Regions from separate parts of the Homo sapiens genome. Here regions 1, 2 and 4 are each linked to region 3. The links are contacts of gene promoters, found by promoter capture Hi-C in blood cells and fetal thymus (Javierre and others, 2016). All regions are on one chromosome and are shown on one strand. Each heading gives the region's core, a stretch centred on a gene start or on the middle of the fragment in contact. The rest is flanking DNA. Distances are from core to core; before and after follow the strand shown.

What was found. The method cuts DNA at HindIII sites, captures the fragments that hold promoters and counts their contacts. A CHiCAGO score of 5 or more calls a contact.
Region 1: a contact is called between a fragment that was not itself captured here and the fragment with the promoter of NFKB2 in region 3, in 1 of 17 cell types (endothelial precursors). The highest score is 5.2, in endothelial precursors.
Region 2: a fragment that was not itself captured here is called in contact with the fragment with the promoter of NFKB2 in region 3 in 5 of 17 cell types (erythroblasts, M1 macrophages, M0 macrophages and 2 more); the score reaches 7.7 in erythroblasts.
Region 4: a contact is called between a fragment that was not itself captured here and the fragment with the promoter of NFKB2 in region 3, in 2 of 17 cell types (endothelial precursors and M0 macrophages). The highest score is 7.5, in endothelial precursors.

Annotation. Positions count from the first base shown.
Region 1 is chr10:102,197,672-102,204,288 of GRCh38, forward strand. No RefSeq gene overlaps it. Among named protein-coding and RNA genes, the nearest start is that of ELOVL3, 25 kb to the right of the region's middle. The HindIII fragment of the contact is 1,949 bases long and covers 4,065-6,013 here.
Region 2 is chr10:102,599,383-102,606,126 of GRCh38, forward strand. It overlaps SUFU (SUFU negative regulator of hedgehog signaling), which reads left to right. Exons shown (of 12, transcript NM_016169.4): 8 at 51-162. Among named protein-coding and RNA genes, the nearest start is that of TRIM8-DT, 40 kb to the right of the region's middle. RefSeq lists enhancers at 370-1,120, 4,338-5,537. The HindIII fragment of the contact is 3,650 bases long and covers 1-3,075 here.
Region 3 is chr10:102,394,410-102,400,387 of GRCh38, forward strand. It overlaps NFKB2 (nuclear factor kappa B subunit 2), which reads left to right and starts at 1,296. Exons shown (of 23, transcript NM_001322934.2): 1 at 1,296-1,387; 2 at 1,479-1,571; 3 at 1,844-1,925; 4 at 2,040-2,080; 5 at 2,316-2,414; 6 at 2,495-2,646; 7 at 2,893-2,999; 8 at 3,118-3,276; 9 at 3,572-3,676; 10 at 3,803-3,888; 11 at 3,976-4,114; 12 at 4,330-4,455; 13 at 4,879-5,088; 14 at 5,168-5,309; 2 more. The coding sequence starts at 1,551. RefSeq lists enhancers at 1-261, 1,312-1,361, 1,772-1,891, 3,363-3,657 and a silencer at 4,872-5,191. The HindIII fragment of the contact is 5,152 bases long and covers 1-3,428 here.
Region 4 is chr10:102,181,239-102,188,217 of GRCh38, forward strand. No RefSeq gene overlaps it. Among named protein-coding and RNA genes, the nearest start is that of NOLC1, 32 kb to the left of the region's middle. The HindIII fragment of the contact is 2,363 bases long and covers 3,949-6,311 here.

The sequences.
Region 1 (6,617 bases), core at 3,789-6,288, 190 kb before region 3:
TTTCCTGACCTTGTGATCCACCTGCCTCGGCTTCCCAAAGTGCTGGGATTACAGGCATGAACCACCGTGCCCAGCCGAATTTTAGTTTTTAAGATTAGTTTGGTAATATGCTTTTTGAGAGTTTGATTCATTCTTTCTACGTTTCCAGAGGAAGGGGGATGCCAAAGGGTGTGATAATCCCATGTAATTTGTAAACCTTCCGTAATTCCCCTTAATACCCTTGAGGTAAAATGGCTCCCATTGTCTGAATCAGTATTTTCTACCAAGCCAAATCGGGGTATAATCTGCTCTAAGATTATTTTGATCACATTCGTGGCAGTAGCTGTTGGAAGGGGAAAGGCTTCCACCCTGCTGGAAAGGTAATCTGCTATCACCAGCAAATACTTTAGTTTTCCTACTTCAGGCATTTCTGTGAAATCTACTTGAATGCTCTGGAATGGTCTCAGTCTGGGAGGTCTTCCTCCTGTGGCCTGTTTTCTAATTACCTTTTTGTTTGTCCTTTGACAAGTTACACAACTTCCACATATTTGTTTAGTGAGGGTGTGGATCCAGTTATTCCTAGGTATTCCATCACACAGAGCCTGGGGTTCCCAATGACTCCCTTTGCGTAATATAGACATTAGTTCTGTCATCAGGGGTTTACTTATCATTTCTCTCCCATCAGGAAGTACCCATTTCCCATCTTTAGTTCGAGTGACCCTCTATCCTGTCTAATTCTTCTTTCTTCTCTCTGGTAAGCTGGGGTCTTCATACTACCTTAGGGATGTCTGGGATCAGGCTAAATAGTCTAATTTCTTTCTCCAGGGAGGCTTGCTTAGCAGTTTCATCTGCAAGCCTGTTTTCTGCAGCTTCTATAGTGTTTCCTTTCTGATGACCATTTACTTTTATTTTTATTTATTTATTTATTTATTTATTTATTTTTGAGATGGAGTCTCTCTCTTGTCTCCCAGGCTGAAGTGCAATGGCGTGATCTCAGCTCACTGCAACCTCCACCTCCCAGGTTCAAGTGATTCTCCTGCCTCAGTCTCCTGAGTAGCTGGGATTACAGACACCTGCCACCAAGCCTGGCTAATTTTTGTATTTTTAGTAGAGACAGAGTTTTGCCATGTTGGCCAGGCTGGTCTCGAACTCCTGACCTCAGGTGATCCACCCACCTCGGCCTCCCAAAGTACTGGGATTACAGGTGTGAGCCACCACGCCCAGCCTGTCTGATGACCATTTATATGAACTATGGTTACTTCTGCTGGAAGAAGGAGGTTTCTAAAACCTGTCTGACCAGTTCCCCAAGTACCAATTCTTTTCCCTTGCTATTTATTAGGCCCTGCTCTGTCCAGATTTTTCCAAAACTGTGTACCACCCCATAGGCATATTTAGAATCAGTATATATAGTGCCTTCTTGGCCTTCAAGGAGCTTTATGGCCTGGTTAAGAGCATATAATTCACAAGTTTGGGCTGACCAGCCATTAGGTAATCTACCTTCCTCACATAAGGAGTGTTTATTTTTATTAATGACAGCATGACTGTTATGTTTCTTGGCATCTATCACTCTGGATGACACATCCACAAACAGGCTTATCCTACCATGTAGGGGAGCTTCTCTAAGGTCTGGGCTAACTTTGATTTGGTATTCTATGATATCTAAGGCAGTTATGGACTGATGCCTCTTTGTTCTTCTCTCCTTTCCATAAGAAACTGGCTGGATTCAGGCAAGTATCTGTTGTTATGACCAAATCATCTTTTTCTAGTAACATGGCTTCATATTTTAGAATCCAAGAATCCATTAACCATCTCTTGGCTTTTTGATTTAATATATTCCTGACCCGATGTGGGGTGCTCACTGTTAGGCCCCAGCAAAGGTTAACTTTTGACTCTCATCTGCCAGCAGGGCTGTGGCAGCTACTACTTGCACACATTTGGGCTATCCTCAAGAGACAGGATTGAGAAGCTTGGAGACAAAAGCAACAGGTTGCCTCTTCCCTCCCCAGGTTTGAGTGAGCACCCCAAGAGCCACACCCTGGTCTACTGTTACAAATAGATGGAATGGTTTCTCTAAAGATGGGAGGGCCAGGACCGGGGCTGTAAGGAGGGCCTGCTTTAGCTCTTTTGTGTCTGGAATTGGTGGGTTCTTGATTTCACTGACTTCAAGAATGAAGCCGCAGACCCTTGCGGTGAGTGTTATAGTTCTTAAAGCCAGAGTGTCTGGAGTTTGTTCATTCTGATGTTTGGATGTGTTTGGAGTTTCTTCCTTCTGGTGGGTTCGTGGTCTCGCTGGCTCAGGAGTGAAGCTGCAGACCTTCACAGTGAGTGTTACAGTTCACAAAGGCAGTGCGGACCCAAAGAGTGAGCAGCAGCAAGATTTATTGCAAAGAGCAAAAGAACAAAGCCTCCACAGTGTGAAAGGAGACCCGAGCAGGTTGCCACTGCTGGCTGGGGCAGCCTGCTTTTATTTCCTTATCTGGCCCCACCTACATCCTGCTGATTGGTGCATTTTGACAGGGTGCTGATTGGTGTGTTTACAATCCCTGAGCTAGACACAAAAGTTCTCCAAGTCCCCACAGAGCACTGGTTGGTGCATTTACAAACCTTGAGCTAGACACAGGGTGCTGACTGGTGTGTTTACAAACCTTGAGCTAGACACAGAGTGCTATTGGTGTATTTACAATCCCTTAGCTAGACATAAAGATTCTCCAAGTCCCCACCAGATTAGCTAGACACAGGGTGCTGATTGGTGTGTTTACAAACCTTGAGCTAGGCACAGAGTCCTGATTGGTGTATTTACAATCCCTTAGCTAGACATAAAGATTCTCCAAGTCCCCACCAGATTAGCTAGACACAGGGTACTGATTGGCGCATTTACAATCCTCTAGCTAGACATAAAAGTTCTCCAAGTCCCCACCAGATTAGGTAGGTACAGAGCACTGATTGGTGCATTTACAAACCTTTAGCTAGACACAGAGTGCTGATTCGTGCGTTTACAATCCTTTAGCTAGATGTAAAAGTTCTCCAAGTCCCCACCAGATTAGCTAGATACAGAGTGCTAATTGGTGCATCCACGAACTCTGAGCCAGACACAGAGTGCTGATTGGTGCATATACAATCCTCCTGCTAGACATAAAAGTTCTCCAAGTCCCCACCCGACTCAGGAGCCCAGCTGGCTTTGCCTAGTGGATCCCTCGCCGGGGCAGCGGGTGTACGCCTGCATTCCTCAGCCCTTGGGCGGTCGATGGGACCAGGCACTGTGGAGCAGGGGGTGGCACCTGTCGGGGAGGCTCAGGCCATGCGGGAGACTACTGCAGGGTGGGGGCTCGGGCATGACGGGCTGCCATTCCTGAGCCCTGCCTTGCGGGGAGGCGGCTGAGGCCCAGAGAGAATTTGAGCATGGCACAGGCGGGCTAGCAGTGCTGGGGGACCCGGCGCCCCCTCTGCAGCTGCTGGCCCAGGTGCTAAGCCCCTCACTGCCTGGGGCCGGCGGCGCTGGCCGGCCGCTCGGAGTGCGGGGCCTGCCAAGCCTGTGCCCACCTGGAACTCGCCCTGGCCCGTGAGTGCCACATGCAGCCCCGGTTCCCGCCCATGCCTCTCCCTCCACACCTCCCTGCAAGCAGAGGGAGCTGGCTTCGGCCTCGGCCAGCCCAGAGAGGGGCTCCCATAGTGCAGCTGCAGGCTGAAGGGCTCCTCAAGCACGGCCAGTGAGGCCGAGGAGGTGCTGAGAGCCAGCGAGGGCTGCGAGGGCTGCCAGCACGCTGTCACCTCTCACTTTCACTGCCTGAATTTCCTCTGGGGACTACTGCAAAGGATCAGGTTCCTCTTCTTGTGACTTGAGATACAGGATCTTTGTCTTTTGAGCACATGAGTCAATCCATAACCTCCAGTAGCCAGTTAAACCTAAAAATTTTCAGAGTTCTTTCTTTGTCTTAGGCAGAAGCCCACTATTCCTGGTATTCTTTCTGGGTTTATTCTCCACCTCCCTTCATTAATCAGGTATCCTAAATATTTAACTTATTTTTCTACAAACTGCAATTTGTTCTTAGAGATTTGCAACCCCCTTTCTCCTAGGGAATTAAGCAAGCTTATGGTGGTTTCTGATACTTTGGTCTTCCTCTCCCTAGAAATTAAAAGATCATCTACATATTGTAATAACTGGTTTCCCCTGGAAGGTTGGAATTCCTTCAGGACTTTTTCTAAGATTTGACCAAATAAGTTTGAGGCATCTGTGAAGCCTTGTGGCAGCACAGTCCAGCAGTACTGTTGTTTTCTGCCAGTTATGGGATTTTCCCATTCAAAGGCAAAGAGATCCCTACTCCTAAAGTCTAGGGGACATCTTTTCTTTCCTGCTCCTCTGTTAGGAGGCCCATCATTACTTTTATTTGTCCTTCCTCTATTCCTAATCCTAAACCCAATCTCACAATCAGGTCTCAACTCAGGAGGTTAGTTGCCTGCTTCAGGAACATATAAGAGTGACCCCTCTATTTGTTCTGGTCCTAATCTAATTACCATTTTCTTGAATATCAGAACCTGAAATCCCTCCCCTTTTACCCCTGATACTGTCAATTTTTCCTTCGAGTCCTGTACCCCTTGGTTGATTAATTAGGAAGGAGAGAGACAGCCCAGTATCAAGCAAAAATGTTACTTCTTCCCCATCGGGTCCCACCCTCAAATTTATCAAGAGTTCCTGGTGGGACCTACTTACAAGGAACCCCTGACTCCCTAATCTTCATCAAAAGTCATACAGTGGATTACTTCTCTTCCTTTTTCCATTCTGGACATTCTCTTTTAAAATGTCCTGGTTTTCCACACTTGTAACATCCACTTACAGTCTTAGGAGTTTTTCCTTGTATTTCTCTTCTGTCTTTTTGCTGAAACCTAGTATTTTCTTGTCTCCTCTGAGAGGGGTCTTGATCTAACTTCTTCCTGACTACCTCCTCTGCAGTGGAAACCATTATTTTCGCTTTTTGTTTCTGTTTCTCCTCTTCTCTTCTCACAAAGATCTTTTTGAGCTTCCCTCAGTAATTCCTCAATTGATTTTTCATTCCAACCATCAATCTTCTGTAATTTTTTTGTAATGTCAGGCTAGCTCTTAGTTACAAAGTTAACATTCAAAAGGCCTTGCCCTACTGGGGCCTCCAGATCTAATCCAGAGTATTTTCTCATCTGATCTCTGAGCCTCTGCAGGAATGCAGAGGGAGTTTCCTCTTTTTCTTGTTGAATCTTTGAGACATTTGAGACATTTTGTGTCCTAGAAGTCAATTATTTGATCCCTTTAATTATTAGTTCCCTGAGGTCCTGCATTTGGGCCTGGTCCCTGGGATCATTATTATCCCATTCGGGATTGACATTTGGAAATTTTTTGTTTGGCTGGCAAGACTCCTTTCCTCGGAGGATGTTGCCTCTTCCAGATGGTCATTGCCACCCTCCTAATCATTCCTCTTTCTTCTCCTGTGAATAAGATATTCATGATAGGCATTATTTCAGTCCAGGTATAAAAGCTGGTCCTAGGAATTGGTACAACTTGTCTGCTAAATGAAGGGGATCCTCTAGGAGTGGTTTCATTACCTTCTTGAAATTCCTAACTTCAGTACTTGTAAGAGGAGCGTTTACAAAGCCAATCTCTTTCTGTCCTGTGGGAACTTCCCTAAGAGGGAACATGCTAGATGTTTGCTGTTTGGAGGGGATAGGGAAGTTCTCAATATCTCTTTTACATTATTCTAATTCTTTTCTTAAATTTGGATAAGGGTCTAAAGGAGCAGTTGGTTCAGCTCCCCCATGGTCTCCAGGTCTTTCTTTCTCTAACTCTCCTGCTGCCCCTTGATCTCCCTGTCCCCTATTTTGTGAGACATATGGAGGGGGCTCCCATGATAGGGGGTCCCAGGGCTTTTCACTGGGCAAGGGCTTTTTACTAGGCTCTTTTTCTTCTTCTTTGAGGGGGGAACATGGGGGCTAATTCCTTGATCCCACAGACAGCATAACCTATCTTCTCCTGTGCAGATGGGGTTTTATCATTCACATAGAGAATTAAAGCTTGGCACACCCAATCCTCATCTGAGCCAACCTTAGGCCAAAAGACTGAAGGCTTATGAATGGGGTCTTTGGGTCAGGTAAAACAGCAATACTTTATCAACTTTTGCTTTTCCTTGTCCCTGGCTGCAGGGTTGTCCCTCCAAACCTGCAACATTCATTCACCCCAAAGGACTATCTGGGGGAATGTCAGAGGGAGTCTCTTTGGCTCCCTCTTTCCTTTGTCCCTAGGCCTAGAATTTCTGTTTCCCATTTTTGGCCAGTCTCTGTGTCTGGGCCTTTCCCTATGTACTCAACCCTCCTACTGGAGGTTTCTTGCACACCCTGAGAATCGCTTCATCTGTTTCCTGCCGATTCCCTCGCAGGAGAACGGAACTGTGGATTGGGACTCCGTGCTTGCTTCGTATCTAGGGTATGTCTCAGTCACACACACTCAACCTCCAAAAATGCCCAACCACCAAGGTGGTACTTACAGTCTGGTTTTCCTACCTTGGCTCATGCACAAGGTTGCCTGGTTGCCATAGTGTCTGCTTTTCTCCCTATGTCACCTCTGCTGCCTGCTGAATAACAATCTCAGGTTTGTCTATGGCCTATGTGGGGAGCTG
Region 2 (6,744 bases), core at 1-2,500, 200 kb after region 3:
ATTGCTGGGAGCCCACTGGGCCACTGGGCAACTTAGTGGTGTCGTTGCAGACACAGAGCAGATCCGGGAGACCCTGAGGAGAGGACTCGAGATCAACAGCAAACCTGTCCTTCCACCAATCAACCCTCAGCGGCAGAATGGCCTCGCCCACGACCGGGCCCCGTAAGTTCCCCAGTGTCCCTGGGCTGGAACAAGAGGACGACTTTTTTCTGAAGGGCCTGTCCCTGTGGATTGCATGAGAGAGAACAATGCACATAGCCCTTGCTGGATGGGCCCAGGATCTCTAGGCTTAAGGGCAGGCATGGTCTGGGGCACACAGATCTATCTGTGGGTCATAGGAGAGGGCCTCAGAGGGGACCCAGCAGACCGTGAATATTAACATCAGTAAATATTTACATGAGCCGTGTGAACAGACAGGAGGCCAGGTTGGGGAGAAATCTGACTTGGGGCCTCCCAGCCTTGTGGGAGCCCATTGTGCTGAGCACGGTTCCCTCCTTATCTCAGTCTTGGCCAGAGTTGCCCTTCCTTCCTTCCTGGAGCCTGGTCTCCGGCTGATAGCTGCAACCCTGGGGGCCTCCCTCTCTGGCCAGCCCCATACTGGATGCCTGTGGCTGAGGCCCTTCTTCCTGCCTCTCTTCCCTGGGGCCCAGGGAAGGGAAAGGAAGTCTTTTGCAGGCCTCTGCTGCCTGTCCAGGGGCCCCTGTAGCCCTCCGGAGAGACTGTGGCCACCCTAGAGGTCAGATCCGCTTCCTGCCAACCTCTCTTCCTCTGATAGAGGGGATGAGTGATAGGCAGGGCTGAAGCTGGGCACCCCCCTCTGCCCTTAGTCCCAGGGCAGCTCTAGGGAATAGCTGCTGGCAGGAGATACCTGGGGGCTGGCAGCCCAAAGCAGGAACCTTGCCTGCCAGGGAGGAAATTGCTGTGCCTTGGGCTGAAAGGGAGGTTGATCATCCTGCAAGACCAGGGTGATCTAGCCTTCTTCTATGAAGTCTTTATTACACATTTGCTGTCTGACAAGCTCGGACCTAGGGGGCCATCTGGGGTGCACAGGCTCTTCCTTTGGGAGAACATGAGTGAAACAGTTACCTTTTAATGGTGTGCATCTGGCTGTCGATGTGATTTGTTGGAAATGGCTGCTTCTCTGGATTCTAGCTCTAGTTGCTGATCGTGTTTCCCAGAAGTAGTAATGCTTCAGTGCACTACAGAAAAGACAGGTCCACAGGATCTGGGGTAGTTAGGGAGGGCATCTTGGAGGAGGAAGAACATAGCATCGACCTTGAGGGCACCTTAGAATTTTAATAAGCAGGGGAAGGAACTCAAGAGGATAGCACAGGGGAGGCCTGGCTGGTTAAAGTTGAGGCTGCCTGCTGGGACCTGACTGGAACTAGAGTTACTCTGGGAACAGGGCTGTACTGAGAGTTGAGCTCTTTGGCAAAAGCCTGGAGAAGCCTCCACCGCCACCTCAGAGCAGCTTTTAACTCCGGCCTGTAGGTTTCTCCAGCCAGCTGCCCTGAAGTAGCTGGCTGGAGGCATCCTGATCATCCCCTGGCAGCAGCAGATGGCCACACCAGGTCATACGACATATGGAAGCTCTCTACCTGTGAGTCTGGACCCTGTCCCGGGTCTACACTCCTTCCCATTCCCTGAGCTTGGCTTCTCGCTTTGGGCCTCCTTGGCACTGTTGGCAGGCCAGAGGTACTGGAAGGCCTATAACATGGACACAGTCTCAGTCCAGATGGCTCTCTGCCTCTGGAAGCCTGGGGTTTCTAGGCAGAAGGGCACAAGCTCCTGCAGAGATACAACCTTCTTGCCCCGCTTGTGTATCTGGAACAGGCCTGAGATCTCACTCCCTGGCTTGGGGGCACTTCCAGCTACTGCACCCCTGGACATTGCAATGGGGCACAAGGCTCTGTGCTCCTAGATATACACATAAGCCGAGACTCTCAGCCTACACCCTAACTGGGCAGTCGGGTATTGGTTCTGGCCCAAGGGTTCTCTGTAAACATAAGGCAGAGAGGCTGCAGCTTCTACCCTTTGGCTTGAGTTGGCTGAGATACAGAGAGATGGGTGAGAATAGATTCGAGGTGCCGGGGTTGTCTCCCCTTCCTGAAGGTTTAGTGCCCAGTAAGGTCTCTAAAGCACCAGGACCTGTAGTCTGAGGGGAATAGAATGTTTCCTCTGAGGCTGTCAGTATTGGTTACCAATTTGTTAGCAATTGGTTGAGAAATGGTTTCTCCTCCTCCTTTGCCAAGAACATTCTCCAACACACCCCTCAAGCCTGTCAGACTCAAGTTTCCTGTTATCTCAGGATCGATGATGATGGACTCAGTTCAGATCAGTGAGCGTGACGGTAATATCTGTGCTGCCCACTCTGGGACCTGACCCCATTTCACATACACCACATGGATTGCAACTGAGAAAGCTGACCCAAAATGTGCTGGCACCAGTGTTTGCTCCTCTCCCTGTTGGGGGGCAGCCAGCGTGGGCCATATTTTGTCTGCGGGTCTGATTTCCCCTTAGTCAGGACTTCTGGGCCAGGGAGCTCTTATGCATGGGTCTTCGCGGGTTTGTCTGTGGTCTAAGGAAGATACAGAGCTAAATCAGAGGCTCAGAGCAGCTGATCAAGCCTGGGCAATAGCAGCCGGGTGCCGGCCTACTTGGGGGTGTCAAGCACTTGCTCTTTTCACACTTCAGCAGCAGCTAAAACCTTATTAGTGCTCATTCTGTGCTAGGTAATGTGCCAGCTACTATGTGCTGCCATTCATTTATCTTATCCTCATAGCCATCCTGTGGTCGATAATCTTACATATTCCCCTTTAATGGATGAGGTACAGAGAGGCTAATAAGTATCTTTTCCAAGGTTGGAAAGGGGTAGAGCTTAGTTACAGCCATCTATCAGCCATTAAAATGGATGTAATCTTCCTTACCCCATTCTCAGGGACCCCATGGGGGACACATCAGACTGTGTCTCTGAGAAAATAATGACCTTTACTGGTAGAATTCATCTAACTAGTTGCAGCATGAATCAGGACCTCTCACATGGCACCAAGGACAAGGCCAAAGCCTCATATTAGAAGCTTATTGGGCTTATTTAACTAAACTCTAGGGGAGTTAAATAACTCCTATGAGATGCCATGAGCCTTGATGATTCCAAATCCCAGAAATAACAAGCTATGTCATAATTGGCTCATTTATACCAAAATTATTTTGTGACACAAGGCCTTACTTTCTTCATGTGCAGAAACTAAAACAACCCTCTCTCTGGTCCCTCTACCACCTCAGGGCTAGGGGATTTCTTTCCATTTTGAGGGTCTATTTCTTCCTTTCCAGAAAGGCAGGCCCCCTGGGTAACCCGCTCCTCTCCTACTCTTCATTGCCAGCCCTCCTCCCACTGCCTTCCCGGAAGGAGAGTCCTTGGCCCTCTTTGGGGCTTCTTCAGCATTTCACAACCCTTGCATTCCAGCCATGAAATCTGTATCTGGCTTTTCCCAAGATGATCAGTTGAGAAAAGCCTCCTTCAGCTTGCTGGCGCCTCCCTTCCCACTGCCTGCTCGGGTGAGTTTGGGAAGGATGGGAAGCAGTTCCTTTGTGCCACATGAGGACAGCCTGGCTTAAAGACTGTGCCTGCCAATATCTGTAGAGATTTGAGGAGGGAAAAGTTCCTGGGCATCCTCTCTGTCTGAGGTCACCTGGTCAGACATGGTCTACGGAGTCTGGTCTCTCTACAGTGCACAGAAGATACGTGTGGTCAGGTGAATTGTGTGTAGAGGTTTTCTTTTATTTATTTCTTTTTTTTAGACACAGGGTCTCCTTCTGTCACCCAGGCTGGAATGTGGTGGCAAGATCATAGCTCACTGCAGCCTCGAGCTCCTGGCCTCAAGTGATCCTCCTACCTTGGCCTCCCAAAATGCTGGGACTACAGGCATGAGCCACCACACCTGGCCTGTATTTCTCTAAACTGTTGCTCAGATGCTGGGAACCTGCACCAGTATTCTAGGGCCACCTCCTCCCTCAGCCAGTGACTTACCACCTGAGGCTGGGAACTCTTAGGAAGCTCTCTGAGTTGTGTGCCCTCCCAGAGAGGGACAGGGCACATGCAGGTGTGCACACTTATGTTAGAGGGGAAAAGTTCCTGACTATGGGAGAAGCACTTTGTAGTTGAGGCACCTCTAAAAAGCGAACTCACCATCACTGCTGAGTTTCTCAGTCTTCTAGAATCACACCAGCAGCTTTTAAGACCTTTAAAAAATTTTTTTTGCCTTAATTTCATGGAGAATTAAGATTCTGTACCATGAATTCCTCTGCTGTAACATTCACATTTGCAACACCTCCCCAACATACACACACACACATATACATAGATTTCTCTCTACTCTTAGGAGTGTCTCTGCACTTGTCTGTTTGGCCTTTGATTGGGGTGACTTTGCTCCCTCTAATTCCCATCTTGAATACCTTGTAACCTGGCCAGGGAGTCATCCTTTAGAGAAAATTGTGTTTTGTTTTGCTCAGCTTGTGAGGTCCATGAAGATTAATTAGAGGAAGAAAATATCTTGTTTGCATCCAACTTACCAGTGAATTGGGGTGAAGGAAGGTGAGTTTCCATCTGGGGAAACAGCTGGGCTGTGGCTGGTGCCGCTCGCACGAAGGGCAGTGTTGGGTAACCCTGCTTCAAGGGGTCTCTCCTGTCAGCGCAGTGGCCAGCCTGGAGCCCTCTCTGTCACGTTGGCTTCCCTCACACTCCCACGCTGGGGAAGTACAGTTGCTTGCACTGGAAAGAAAGCCCAGAAAGAAACAGCCCTTCTCTTAGGGCCCCAGCCAGACTCTGCAGGGCTGATGAGAGGAACAGCCCAGGCCTCTCTGCTCCCTGCGTCCTGGACAGCAGGCTCCTTTTTGCCTCCCTCACTGTGATCCATGTTGTCATGCCAAGTGCCTTTACAGGCCTTTCTCAGAAATACATATTTGAAAGGGCAGAGCAAGGGGCTCCACAGCAAGTCTGGCATGGGTAAATTTCTGTTTTAACTCCGTTCTTTGCTCCGCTTCCCCAAAGAGATGAAGTCACGGCCATTGTTAACACCTCAACTTCAGAATTCCTTGCTGGTGCTTGAATTCTCAGTCCAAACGCTGCATCCCCCTCCCTCGAGTTGCACAATCAGGGGTATTTTTATCGCCCATCCTTGATCCTCGGTGTCACCCAACACTTCAGCAGTGAGTCACTTCTCCAGGGAAGGGAAAAGGAAGGCTCAAAGGTAAGAGCTAGAGAAAGGAAATGACTCAGTGTCTCAGAAAAAGGAAAGCTGGGGTTCTGGCTAGAGTAAGCTCATTCAGGAGAGTAGGGGTCCTAATCTCCCACCCAAGTCAGAGGGTAGGGCTGGGGATGGCGGCCCCTGGTGCCCAGAGGAGTTAATAGTTGACTAGGAAATCCCCTAACCTTGATGCAGATTTTACTCACCCTGACTTCTTTAGCCATACTCTGTCCCACCATTTCATGATTTCATGATCACATTTTACCTTTGGGATATTCCCGATGAAAATATTGCCTTTTTTTTTTTTTTTTTTTTTTTTAACACGAGGTGAAGTCTCACTCTGTCACCTAGACTGGAGTGCAGTGGCACAATCTCGGCTTACTGCAACCCCTGCCTCCTGTGTTCAAGCGATTCTCCTGAGTAGCTGGGATTATAAGCACACACCACCACGTCCAGCTAATTTTTGTATTTTTAGTACAGATGGGTTTTCACCATGTTGGTCAGGCTGGTCTCGAACTCCTGACCTTATGATCTGCCCGCCTCAGCCTCCCAAAGTGCTGGGATTACAGGCATGAGCCACTGTGCCCTGCCAAATATTGCATTTTTAAACTGGGTGTGGTGGCTCATACCTGTAATCCCAGCACTCTGGGAGGCTGAGGCAGAAAGAGCTCTTGAGTCCAGGAGTTCGAGACCAGCCTGGGCAACATGGCAAAACCCCATCTCTACAAAACATTAGCCAGGTGTGGTGGCACATGCCTGTAGTCCCAGCTACTCAGGAGGCTGAGGTGGGAGGATTGCCTGGGCCTGGGAGGTTGAGGCTGCAGTGAACCGTGATCACACCACTGCACTCCAGCCTGAGACCCTGTCTCAAAGCAAAAAAAGAAAATACTGCATTTTGTCATTTGGTTATTGGTGTTTACTATTCACCTTTTGTGGCCTTTTACTCCTATATTGTCCTTATAAGAAAATTTGTCAGAATAACCAGGTTATACAGCCTTGTGCTTAATAAGAACTTCAGAGGTGAGCTGGTCCCCTCTCCCTCGATCCCACAGCCACACCCTTTTCCAGTTCTGCCTTAAAGGGAGACCTGCAGGTGGTTCTTTCTCTGGAAAGTTCAGAGCTTTCGTCAGCAATCAGAAAGCAAAAGGAAGAATCTCCCAGGCAAGGGGCAGAAGCCAGAGGTTGGGCTGGGCTCAGCAGGCCAAATCCACTTCACTTGTGAATAGTTGCCAAGCTTGATGCCCTGGTTCCTGTTCCTGGGCATCCCCAAGGAGAAGGCCCCAAGTCGTGTGTCCACTGCAGACGTCATGACTCACAGGACTGGGATTGTGGCTAAAAGGAGTCTCAATGGTTCAGCTCCTCTCCTTTCCACCCATGCTGCCACTGACTGAATGGGACCAATGCCCTTTAGGCGAATGTGAAAAATTAAGACTTTTCCGTTCAGAGAGACCAGGGTGGAGGGGAAGCATGGTTGAGACTCTGTTGGTCTGTTATGTGTAGG
Region 3 (5,978 bases), core at 46-2,545:
TCCAGAGTTAAACTTTCAGCCAATGAAAAAGGGCGCGAGGCGTGACGCACGGAAACGTCATGGGAATTCCCCCCTCCGGGGGGCCGAGAAGGGGCTTTCCCGGCCCTGAGCCCTGCTGGCAGGCGAGGTGTCGCGACCGGTCCCAGGTGGGTCGGGCGCGGAGAGAAGCCGCAACCAGAGCCGCCGCCACGGTGAGTGGCTGGATTCAGACCCCTGGGTGGCCGGGACAAGAGAAAAGAGGGAGGAGGGCCTTTAGCGGACAGCGCCTGGGGCTGGAGAGCAGCAGCTGCACACAGCCGGAAAGGGCGCGCAGGCGACGACACTCGGATCCACGTCGACACCGTTGTACAAAGATACGCGGACCCGTACGTACACCTGTACCTGTGCTGGCGCACACACGGCAGCGTCCGTGCAGTCGCACTCGCACACACATGCACACGGAGACGTGCCCACCGGTGCACTGGTGCCTGCACCCACACCCTTCACGCACAAACTCAAGATACGCTCACCCGTGTCCGTACATCAAGACAGGCGCTGACACACACCCACACTGAGAAGCTCGGGATTCACCTATCTACACACATGCTCGCTTGCACACTCATGTTGACGCCATGGACACACAACATGCAACCAAGCACTACAGCCGAAACACACTTGTGGAGCTGTGATGGAGACACACTCTTGTATTAGGTGGGGGGGGGGGGGGGGGAGCGTGCAGAGATCTCCCTGTCGCCTGCGCGCCCAGAACCGGTGCGGTGTGGGACCAGCTGCTGTTGTGAGGTTTGGGAGAGAGAGAAAAGAGCCCACTCCGAGGAGGAGACACTTTTCCCGCAGCCCCAGAATCGCGTTCTCGGGGCAGAACCCCGGGGCCTCCCACAGGAAAGAGCCCCCGCCTACAGGCTGTTCGAAGGGGAGGCCGTCCGACAGCAGGAATGTCCCCCCAAAAGCCCCCGGGGTTTATCAGCCGTGGCCTCCCTCCTGGCAGAAAATCCCAAGGTTGCTCCAGACCGGGGGAGGGGAGCGGGAGGCGGACTTGGCCCCAGACTGCCAGCCTCCTCCCGGCCGTGAAAGACCCTCCTGTTCCCTGCCCTGGAGGGAGGAGGGGGCTTAACCCCCACCGGGGCTTCCCGGATTCTCCTAGACCTCTGCCCGCTGAAAAGCAGCGGGAGCCCGTAGACTGTCGAGGGCCTCCCGCCCCTCCCGTCGCGAGGGCGGGGCCAGTGGCGTCATTTCCAGGCCCGCCCCCTCCGGCCCCGCCTCCCCTTGGTATTTTCGGGACTTTCCTAAGCTGCTCTAACTTTCCTGCCCCTTCCCCGGCCAAGCCCAACTCCGGATCTCGCTCTCCACCGGATCTCACCCGCCACACCCGGACAGGCGGCTGGAGGAGGTCGGACCCTCCCCCAAATCTGGGCCCCCATCTCCCGCCCACCCCCATTTAGATCTGACCCCCTCCCCCACGCCACTCCTCCCAACTTTAGGCGGGCGTCTAAAATTCTGGGAAGCAGAACCTGGCCGGAGCCACTAGACAGAGCCGGGCCTAGCCCAGAGACATGGAGAGTTGCTACAACCCAGTGAGTCATGCCGCCTGCCCCTGACCCGGCCGGCTGCCCCTCGTGTCTGTCCACCTGTCTGCCCGAGCCCCCTCTGCTGCCTTACACCTGTATGCTCGCAGATGCTCTCAGCCTGCCAGTCTGTCCATCTGTCTGCAACTCTGCCTCCAAAAGGAGCTTTCTCTTGGGTCTGAGGAGGAGGGGGGAGTGACCACTGAAGACTTGGAGATGGGAGGTGGGGCTGTGGGGGGTGCTGAGAGTCGGATGCCACCCCCAGTCTGTCTCCAAACCAGGGTCTGGATGGTATTATTGAATATGATGATTTCAAATTGAACTCCTCCATTGTGGAACCCAAGGAGCCAGCCCCAGAAACAGGTCAGCAAGTTCACTAACCTCCCCTAGTCCTAAAGCGGGGGAGGGAGAGCATGTGCCCTCTCTCTGGGGGAGGGGCTGGGAGATCGTGGCTCAGCAAGGTCTCTCTGTCCCCAGCTGATGGCCCCTACCTGGTGATCGTGGAACAGCCTAAGCAGGTGAGTGAGCAAAAGGGAGGGTGTGGAATGGCTTCAGCTTTGGGGACAAATGGGGTAGTGGTAGCTGGCTGGCCATGGAGGAGCCATTGCCGAAGGAGGCCACAGGGGATTGGATGGTCACTGCTGCTGATCAGAGTGCTGTAGTTTGGTTCAGGGCTACTACCAGGCACTGCGGTCACTGCTGGCCTGGGTGGTCTTCCCTGATCACAATGCTACTATGCCCTTGGACCTTCAGAGAGGCTTCCGATTTCGATATGGCTGTGAAGGCCCCTCCCATGGAGGACTGCCCGGTGCCTCCAGTGAGAAGGGCCGAAAGACCTATCCCACTGTCAAGGTGAGCCAGGATGGTGCTGGAGGGTGGGCTAAGTGGACAGCATGCCCAAGGCCCTGACTGACAGTCCCTGCCTCTCCTAGATCTGTAACTACGAGGGACCAGCCAAGATCGAGGTGGACCTGGTAACACACAGTGACCCACCTCGTGCTCATGCCCACAGTCTGGTGGGCAAGCAATGCTCGGAGCTGGGGATCTGCGCCGTTTCTGTGGGGCCCAAGGACATGACTGCCCAGTAGGTGCCCTCTACGCCTGGCCCCCACTGGTATGCCCGTCTGCCAGTCCCAGGCCCCAGCCCACCTCCATGAGCTTAGCATCTGACCAAGGGGAAAGATGTAGGTTGGCCCCAAACCCAAGGGCCTAAGTAGAAACTCCAATGGCTTCCTTGAGGAAGTAAGGCTGAGCTGAGCCCTGGCAATGGGAAAGGTGCCTCAGGAAGAAAGAACTGCATGGCCAAAGGCCTCCGATTCTCTCTTCTCAGATTTAACAACCTGGGTGTCCTGCATGTGACTAAGAAGAACATGATGGGGACTATGATACAAAAACTTCAGAGGCAGCGGCTCCGCTCTAGGCCCCAGGGCCTTACGGGTATGGGTGCAGGGGGTGGGTCGGGTATGGGTGCAGGGGGTGGGTGGGTCATGGGAGGTGCTCATGGAAGGAGCAGGGAGGGAGAAGCCCAGGGGTCACACATGTACCTACTGCCCAGAGGCCGAGCAGCGGGAGCTGGAGCAAGAGGCCAAAGAACTGAAGAAGGTGATGGATCTGAGTATAGTGCGGCTGCGCTTCTCTGCCTTCCTTAGAGCCAGTGATGGCTCCTTCTCCCTGCCCCTGAAGCCAGTCATCTCCCAGCCCATCCATGACAGCAGTGAGTATCCTGATTGCCTGGGGTGCCAGGCCTGGTGGCAGAGGTGGCATGAGGGGTGACCTCAAGCTGTGCAGTCAAACAGACCCAGGTTTCAGAACCTGGCCCTGCCACATATGAGCTGAGTGATCCTGAGCAAGTCATTTCCCCCCCGAAGCTTCTGTCTTTAGTAAATGTGTATATTGGGTGTTTCCTGCAGCTCCAGGGGTTGCTGAGATAAGGAATACAAAGCCCCCAGCTTCTTAAATGTGGCCTTGGCTATTGCATCATCTCAACTAATCCATATCCCACTCCATAGAATCTCCGGGGGCATCAAACCTGAAGATTTCTCGAATGGACAAGACAGCAGGCTCTGTGCGGGGTGGAGATGAAGTTTATCTGCTTTGTGACAAGGTGCAGAAAGGTGAGACTGGAGCCCACTTTGGGCACCAAGGACATCGAGTATAAGACTGGGGCCAGGGAAGCTCTAGGGTAAATGGCCCCAGAGATTCCACCGGGAGCTGTGGCCAAGCTTCCGTTTTCCTTGTAGATGACATTGAGGTTCGGTTCTATGAGGATGATGAGAATGGATGGCAGGCCTTTGGGGACTTCTCTCCCACAGATGTGCATAAACAGGTACCCAGGGCTAGGGCCCGGGCCCGGGCTGGGGGCTAAATTAGGCTAAGGACTCACTGACACCCTGTGTCTCCCTGCACCCCCCAGTATGCCATTGTGTTCCGGACACCCCCCTATCACAAGATGAAGATTGAGCGGCCTGTAACAGTGTTTCTGCAACTGAAACGCAAGCGAGGAGGGGACGTGTCTGATTCCAAACAGTTCACCTATTACCCTCTGGTGGAAGGTGGAGCTGGGCTGAGGACCTCAGGGTGCTGGCGGGGGGCCAGGCTGGGCTAGAAGAAGGTCCCAAGAGCTAGATGTGGGGATGCATGAGCCAAGTCAGAAGTGCGAGGGTCCCAGGAGGTGCTTCCTAGGAGCCGGCCCTGAGGGCTCTTCTGGGAAGGGCCCCTGAGGCATGACACAATAACTGGGCTCAATCTCATTTTCCTCTGCCCCCAGACAAGGAAGAGGTGCAGCGGAAGCGGAGGAAGGCCTTGCCCACCTTCTCCCAGCCCTTCGGGGGTGGCTCCCACATGGGTGGAGGCTCTGGGGGTGCAGCCGGGGGCTACGGAGGAGCTGGAGGAGGTGAGGGGGTACTGATGGAGGGAGGGGTAAAGGTAAGAGAAGCTGTGGAGGAAAAAAATCTGGGGGAGGCCGGGCGTGGTGGCTCACGCCTGTAATCCAGCCCTTTGGGAGGCCAAGGCAGGCAGATTACCTGAGATCAGGAGTTCAAGACCAGCTTGGCCAACAGCGTGAAACCTCGTCTCTACTAAAAATACAAACATTAGCTGGGCATGGTGGCAGGCGCCTGTAATCCCAGCTACTCGGGAGGCTGAGGCAGGAGAATCGCTTGAACCCTGGGAGACAAGAGGTTGCAGTAAGCTGAGATCACACCACTGCACTCCAGGCTGGGCAATAAGAGCGAAACTCCGTCTCAAAAAAAAAAAAAAAAAATCTGGGAGAGTCATGGCTGGTGCCCGCTTCCCACAGCCCTGCCTGTATCCACAGGTGGCAGCCTCGGTTTCTTCCCCTCCTCCCTGGCCTACAGCCCCTACCAGTCCGGCGCGGGCCCCATGGGCTGCTACCCGGGAGGCGGGGGCGGGGCGCAGATGGCCGCCACGGTGCCCAGCAGGGACTCCGGGGAGGAAGCCGCGGAGCCAAGCGCCCCCTCCAGGACCCCCCAGTGCGAGCCGCAGGCCCCGGAGATGCTGCAGCGAGGTATGGACTCCGGGGCACGGGCGGTCGGGGCGCCGGGGCTGAGGACCTAGCCCTGACCCACGCCCTCTGTGGCCCGTAGCTCGAGAGTACAACGCGCGCCTGTTCGGCCTGGCGCAGCGCAGCGCCCGAGCCCTACTCGACTACGGCGTCACCGCGGACGCGCGCGCGCTGCTGGCGGGACAGCGCCACCTGCTGACGGCGCAGGACGAGAACGGAGACACGTAGGCAACAGAGGGCCTGGCGGACGAGGCGCGGGGTGGGGGCAGGAAAGGGACCGGCACGGAGGCGGGCTCTGCAGTTTTCGGACACGCCAGGCTTCAAGTCCGGCCTCGGTGTTCACAAGCTCTGTTCAAGCTGCTTGGTCTCTCCAAACTTCAGTTTGGTCGACCGTGCAAGGGGTACAGTCATAGCACTTACCTACCTCAAAAGGTGCTGCGAAACGTTAAGTGCAGGCACAGCGATGCCCTGGGCCACGTGCTGGGTTCCATGGGCCCCAGCGAGGGAGACTATGAGGGCGGTGGGGCCTTGAAAGCGAAGGATGCTCTGAGTGGCTGGGCCAGACTCTCGCTCCCCAACCCCCAGACCACTGCACCTAGCCATCATCCACGGGCAGACCAGTGTCATTGAGCAGATAGTCTATGTCATCCACCACGCCCAGGACCTCGGCGTTGTCAACCTCACCAACCACCTGCACCAGGTGCGGGGGCGCCTACTGGGGAGGTGGGAGGGGTTGGAAGGCAAGTGGGTCTCGGGCCTGGCTCACCCTGCTTTCATCCCCAGACGCCCCTGCACCTGGCGGTGATCACGGGGCAGACGAGTGTGGTGAGCTTTCTGCTGCGGGTAGGTGCAGACCCAGCTCTGCTGGATCGGCATGGAGACTCAGCCATGCA
Region 4 (6,979 bases), core at 3,880-6,379, 210 kb before region 3:
CAAATTAGGAAAAATGGGGGAAAAAGAAGAAAAAAAAATGAAAACAGTATTTTGAAGTCTTGTAGCTAAGAAAAATTAGAATTTGGTTCAAACTGTAGAAAACAATAAAAATTGGCCGGGCGCGGTGGCTCACGCCTGTAATCCCAGCACTTTGGGAGGCCGAGGCGGGCGGATCACAAGGTTAGGAGATCGAGACCATCTTGGCTAACACGGTGAAATCCCATCTCTACTAAAAATACAAAAAATTAGCCGGGCGCGGTGGCGGGCGTCTGTAATCCCAGCTACTCGGGAGGCTGAGGCAGGAGAATGGCATGAACCCGGGAGGTGGAGCTTGCAGTGAGCCGAGATAGCGCCACTGCAGTCCGGCCTGGGCGAAAGAGCGAGACTCCGTCTCTAAAAAAAGAAAAGAAAAGAAAAGAAAACAATAAAAATTGAAAAAATATTAGGCAAGACTAGAATCTAACAACAGGTGTACTATAGTTTTAAAACATAATTTTTCTCTCTCCAGTTTCCCATTTTTACTAAAGACAAATCATGGTAGGACTGGTTTGCTTTATTACACTTGGCATAATTATTTGTATACAGTGCAGCAAGAATAATCATTTTTTTAATGTAGGCTTTTAAATTGGCTTTGATGGAACTTGTTCCATAGGAGGATTCTCAGATAAGACTTTTTAAAGCCGAACCCAGTCATGGATTACAGGCATGAGCCACTGCACTCGGCCGCTTTTTGAGAAACTTTTACTATAATGGATTATAAAAATAACCACTTTAAGGACAGTATCAATAATTTAATTTTATTATTATTTTTTTGCCCCACCCCCTCTGCCTCTTAATTATTTATTTATTTATTTTTTGAGAGGGAGTCTCGCTCTGTCGCGAGGCTGGAGTTCAGTAGCGCAATCTCAGCTCACTGCAACCTCTGCCTCCCAGGTTCAAGTGATTCTCCTGCCTCAGCCTCCTGAGTAGCTGAGACTACAGGTGCACGCCACCATGACCAGCTAATTTTTGTATTTTTAGTAGAGACAGGGTTTCACCATGTTGGCCAGGCTGGTCTCAAACTCCTGACTTCAAGTGGATCTGCCTTCCTTGGCCTCCCAAAGTGCTGGGATTACAGGCATGAGTCACCAAGCCTGGCCAATTTATTTTTTTCTCCCCTTAATTTGAAATGCTACAGAATGAAAGATTTGTTTGTTTGTTTGTTTGTTTATTTATTGAGATGGAGTCTTGCTGTGTTGCCGAGGCTGGAGTGCAGTGGCGCGATCTTGGCTCACTGCAACATCCGCTTCCTTGGTTCAAGCAATTCTCTGCCTCAGCCTCCCGAGTAGCTGGGATTACAGGCGCTGCCACCACACCCAGCTAATTTTTGTATTTTTAGTAGAGACGGGGTTTCACCATCTTGGCCAGGCTGGTCTTGAACTCCTGACCTCGTGATCTGCCTGCCTCGGCCTCCCAAAGTGCTGGGATTACAGGCATGAGCTACCACGCCTGGCCTTGGCATTTTTATTTTATTTATTTTGAGACAGGGTCTTGCTCTGTCACCCAGGCTGGAGTGCAGTGGCACTATCTCGGCTCACTGCAAGCTCCGCCTCCCAGGTTCATGCCATTCTCCTTCCTCAGCCTCCTGAGTAGCCGGGACTACAGGCACCACCACCACGCCTGGCTGATTTTTGTATTTTTAGTAAAGACGGGGTCTCACCATGTTAGCCAGGATGGTCTCGATCTCCTGACCTCGCGATCCACCTGCCTTGGCCTCCCAAAGTGCTGGGATTACAGGCGTGAGCCATTGCTTCTGGCCTTGTTTATTTTTTATTTTTATTTTTTTAAATTGAGACACAGCCCAGGCTGAAGTGGTGAGATCTCGGGTCACTGCAACCTTTGCTTCCTGGGTTCAAGTGATTCTCCTGCCTCAGCCTCCCAAGTAGCTGGGATTACAGGCACTAAGTCCCTATGCTGCACACAGCACAGGAACCCTTGGCCCAGCCCACAAAACTAATTTTTCCTCCTAGGCCTCTTGGCCTGTGATGGGAAGGGATGCTGTGAAGACTTCTGACATGCACTGGAGACATTTTCCCCATTGTCTTGGGGATTAACATTCGGGTCCTCATTACTCATGCAAATTTCTGCAGCCAGCTTGAATTTCTCCTCAGAAAATGGGATTTTTTTTTCTATCGCATTGTCAGGCTGCACATTTTCCAAGCTTTTATGCCCTGTTTCCCTTTTAAAACTGAATGCCGGCTGGGCGCGGTGGCTCACGCCTGTAATACCAGCACTTTGGGAGGCTGAGGTGGGCAGATCACGAGGTCAGGAGATCGAGACCATCCTGGCTAACACGGTGAAACCCTGTCTCTACTAAAAAATACAAAAAATTAGCCGGGCGTGGTGGTGGGCGCCTGTAGTCCCAGCTACTCGGGAGGCTGAGGCAGGAGAATGTGTGAACCTGGGAGGTGGAGCTTGCAGTGAGCCGAGATTGTGCTACTGCACTCCAGCCTGGGCAACAGAGCAAGACTCCGTCTGAAAAAAAAAAACAAAACCAAAACTGAATGCCTTTAACAGCACCCAAGTCACCTCTTGAATGCTTTGCTACTTAGAAACTTTTTTCCACCGGATACCCTAAATCATCTCTCTCAAGTTCAAAGTTCCATAAATCTCTAGGGCAGGGGCAAAATGCTGCCAGTCTCTTTGCTAAAACATAACAAGAGTCACCTTTGCTCCAGTTCCCAACAAGTTCCTCATCTCCATCTGAGACCACCTCAGTCTGGACCTTATTGTTCATATCACTATCAACATTTTTTTTTTTTTGAGACGGAGTTTCGCTCTTGTTGCCCATGCTGGAATGCAATGGTGTGATCTTGGCTCACCACAACCTCCACCTCCTAGGTAAGTGATTCTTCTGCCTCAGCCTCCCGGGTAGCTGAGATTACAGGCATGCACCACCACGCCTGGCTAATTTTGTATTTTTAGTAGAGAAGGGGTTTCTCCATGTTGGTCAGGCTGGTCTTGAACTCCCGATGTCAGGTCATCTGCCCGCCTCGGCCCCCCAAAGTGTTGGGATTACAGGTGTGAGCCACCATGCCTGACCCATTATCAGCATTTTTGTCAAAGCCACTCAACAAGTCTCTAGGAAGTTCCAATCTTTTCCACATTTTTCTCTCTTCTTCTGAGCCCTCTAAATAGTTTCAGCCTCTCCCTGTTACCCAGTTCTGAAGTTGCTTCCACATTTTCAGGTATCTTTTCAGCAACACTCCACTCCTGGTACTAATTTACTGTATTAGTCCATTTTCATGCTGCTGATAAAGACATACCTGAAGCTGGGCAATTTACAAAAGAAAGAAGTTTAATGGGCTTACAGTTCCACATGGCTGGGAGGCCGCACAATCACAGTAGAAAGACAAGGAGGAGCAAGTTACAACTTACGTGGATGGCAGTAGGCAAAAAGAGAACTTGTGCTGAGAAACTCCCATTTTTAAAACCATCAGATCTTTTGAGACCCATTCACTATCACCAGAACAGCACAGGAAAGACCCACCCCCATGATTCAGTCATCTCCCACTGGGTCCCTCCCACATCTTATTGGAGCTACAAGATGAGATCTGGGTGGGGACACAGAGCCAAACATATCACTGCATGTTCTCACTTATAAGTGGGAGGTAAATGATGAGAACACATTGGCACAAAGAGGGGAACAACAGACACTGGAGCCTACTGGAGGGTGGAAGATGGGAGGAGAGAGAGGATCAGAAAAAATAACTAATACTAGACTTTATACTTGGGTGAAGAAATAATCTGTACAACAAACCGCTGTGACAAGTACAAATTTGCTTATATAACAAACCTGCACATGTACCCCTGAACTTAAAAGGTAAAAAACAAACAAATGAAATCAACCCAATAGTTCCAGAGACTATTGTTTTGGATAAACATAAAAATTTATCTTTCTGGTCTTAAAGCTTGAAACTTATATTTGCTTTATTTGAGTTCCTTCATTAGTAAATGACCTTCAGGCTTCTCCCCCGCAAAAAAAAAGTATCAATGAACTGAAACTCACCAGATCACTACATCCAGACAATGAGACTTTGGACCCCTCATTCATCATGATTACTTCCTTGGCCCTCCCTACTTCCTGTTTTCTTACACATTACATTTCTTCCCCTCTGTATAAAACCCTTGTTTTAGTTGATCAGGGAGATGGATTTGAGGTTTTGAGCTCCCATCTTCTCAGCTGCAGCACCCGATTAAAGCCTTCTTCCTTGGCAATACTTGTCATCTCAGTCATTGGCTTTCTGTGCAGCGAGCTGTAGGACCTAGACTGAACCCCTGATGTTTCAATAACATATTTTGGTTCCCTGACTGGGAACATGTTGCTTGTGGCTCAGCTGCCATGGGTGGAGTCTCAGAAGCCCTCTTATGCAGCTGCCTGACAAATTTTATTTTATTTTATTATTTTATTTTATTTCCTTTGAGATGGAGTCTCACAGTGTCACCCAGGCTGTAGTGCAGTGGCACAATCTTGGCTCACTGCAACCTCTGCCTCCCAGTGCTATAGGAGTCAGAAGAAATCACTTGGGCAGATAGCCAGGGTACGGGAATCCTCAGTAAGGCTTTTCTTTTTCTTTTTTAATGAAAAGCTGCCCCAAATCATTTTCTAACAAAGAGCAGCCTGAAACCTGGGAGTTTGCAAGGGTGAATGCCAGCAGGAACTAAGGAGTAGACATGTTCAAGATAGCGACTTCATCTTCCCTTCTCTGCCAGTCATGTGTACTGTAAGGAGCAGACCAGATGGTGTCGATCACCTCGCCTCTACTAAAAATATAAAAATTAGCTGGGCGTGGTGGTGGGCGCCTATAGTCCCAGCTGCTCAGGCGGCTGAGGCAGGAGAATTGCTTGAACCGGGGAGTCAGAAGTTGCAGCGAGCTGAGATCGCACCATTGCACTCCAGCCTGGATAACGAGAGCAAAACTCTGTCTCAAAAAAAAAAAAAAAAAAAAAGAAAAAGAAAAAAAAAACAGATGGTGTCGATCAACTGGAAAGGCCATTTGCGTAACAAGATTAGGGTGGGGCAACCAGCCTTTCCTGAGCACTATGTAAACGTCATAGCTGATCAAACCAATCTGTGAGCCCTATGTAAATCAAGACACATTAAAACAGTCCACACTAAATCAGACACTGCCTCCTCAAACTGGTGTCTTCACTACCAGCCAGTCCTTTCCATTCGGAGACCTCTTCTTCTATAGAGGAAGCTATTTCTCTTTTCTCTTCTACCTATTAAACCTCTGCTCCTAAACCCCTTGTGTGTGTCTGTGTCCTAAATTTTCCTGGCCTGTGACAATGATAAATATATACCTGAGGGCATATACCCCAGACAATGTAGCCACTTCACCAGGTTCAAGTTATTCTCCTGCCTCAGCCTCCCCAGTAGCTGGACTACAGGCATGCACCATGCCCATCTATTGACCAATATCAGCTGGAAGTGAGTTTCAGTTTCTCTCTGGCCCCACCATGGTCAGCCCCAACCATCCTCCTGATTGCCTTGGAAGAATAGCCTTCGAAATTGGACATCTGCATCCAGATAGGTGAGTATCCTTTGTGGGCCCAGACAGCAGGATTTGCTCCTCTCAATTTGGGAAATTTTTAAAAGAATTTTCATTTGCAGGTTGAACAAGCCCAACTGACTGAGGGAGGGAAACACCCTGACTGTTTTTATGTGGACACTCTTGGGGGCTAGTTTATAATTGTATGTTGTGTCTGGGCAAGTGAGTGCCTCGTGTGTGTACCAGACAGCGGGATCAGTTCCTCTCAATTTGGGAAATTTCCTAAGGAATTTTTGTTTGCATTTGATCAAGCCCAACCAATGAAGAGAGGAAGCACCCTGACTGTTTGAGTTTGGACACTCTTGGGGCTTGTTTTTTGCTGCAGCAGTTGGATTGTGTTTTGGTGATCATTTGTGTGTGTTTTATATAGTCATGAGAAGTTAGAATTCGGTAAACTGATATTCATTTGCAATACTGTTGGCCCCAGTGTTGTTTGGAATCTGGCGTTTGCTGTTTGGAATCTGGAGTTTGCTGCTGAATGGGAAAGTGGGATGGAGTTGTGTGTATCCAGGCTTTTGTGCTGCTGTTCTAAGCAAGGTTGGGCCTGGCAGGTATGTGATGTTCTCCTTTGTTGCTGTTTGACCCCAATGTTCTTTGGAGTCTGAGGAGGTTTGGCCTTTAAAAATCAAACTGCCATGGAAACTACTATACCCAAAATTTTGATTCACAGCCTTCACTGAATTACCTACTGGGACAAAGTGTAACCATGTAAAACCAGTAAGCTTGTATTGCTATCTCATAGCTATAGTTCCAAGGTAAAAGCTATTGGATCTTTGTTTATGTGTGTATATTCATGTTTAGATGTGTTTATTTGTATGTACCCTTATTGGTATATGTTGTGTCTACCAAATTGGCTTATAAGTAAAACAGCACTCATAAATTAAATAAGTCAAAGCAATTTTCAAGTTCGTGTGAGTTAAGTAAATTTTTTCGAAACCAGCTGGCTGTAAAATTATTGGTAAAATGAAAATAAAAATGTCTTCAAAATTGTGAGCATACATTTTTGTCTGGATTTTATATTTGTCTCTGGTAGATATTTTGAGGTTTCAGGGTTTGGCATAGAAGGTTATAAAATTATAAACCCAGCCAAAACAAATGATCTTCATGAAAATTTTTTGAAAAGTAGTATTACGGGATCACTGGATGTCAATTTTTCTGGCCAGAAACCTCTGTGGCCAGTGGTGCTTTGCCTGAGTTCTTGTCCTGCGTTCAGGAAGAATGAGGTACTCAGGCAAGTGAACCAGACAAAGAGGAGCTTTATTTAGTATTAGAGCAGCTCAGGGGAGACGCACAGTGGGTAGCTCCTTTCTGTTACTCGTTGTCCCAACGTCTGCTGCTCTCAGCAGAGAGGAGGCCCTGGAGAGGACAGCTCCTGTCTGCTACTGGTC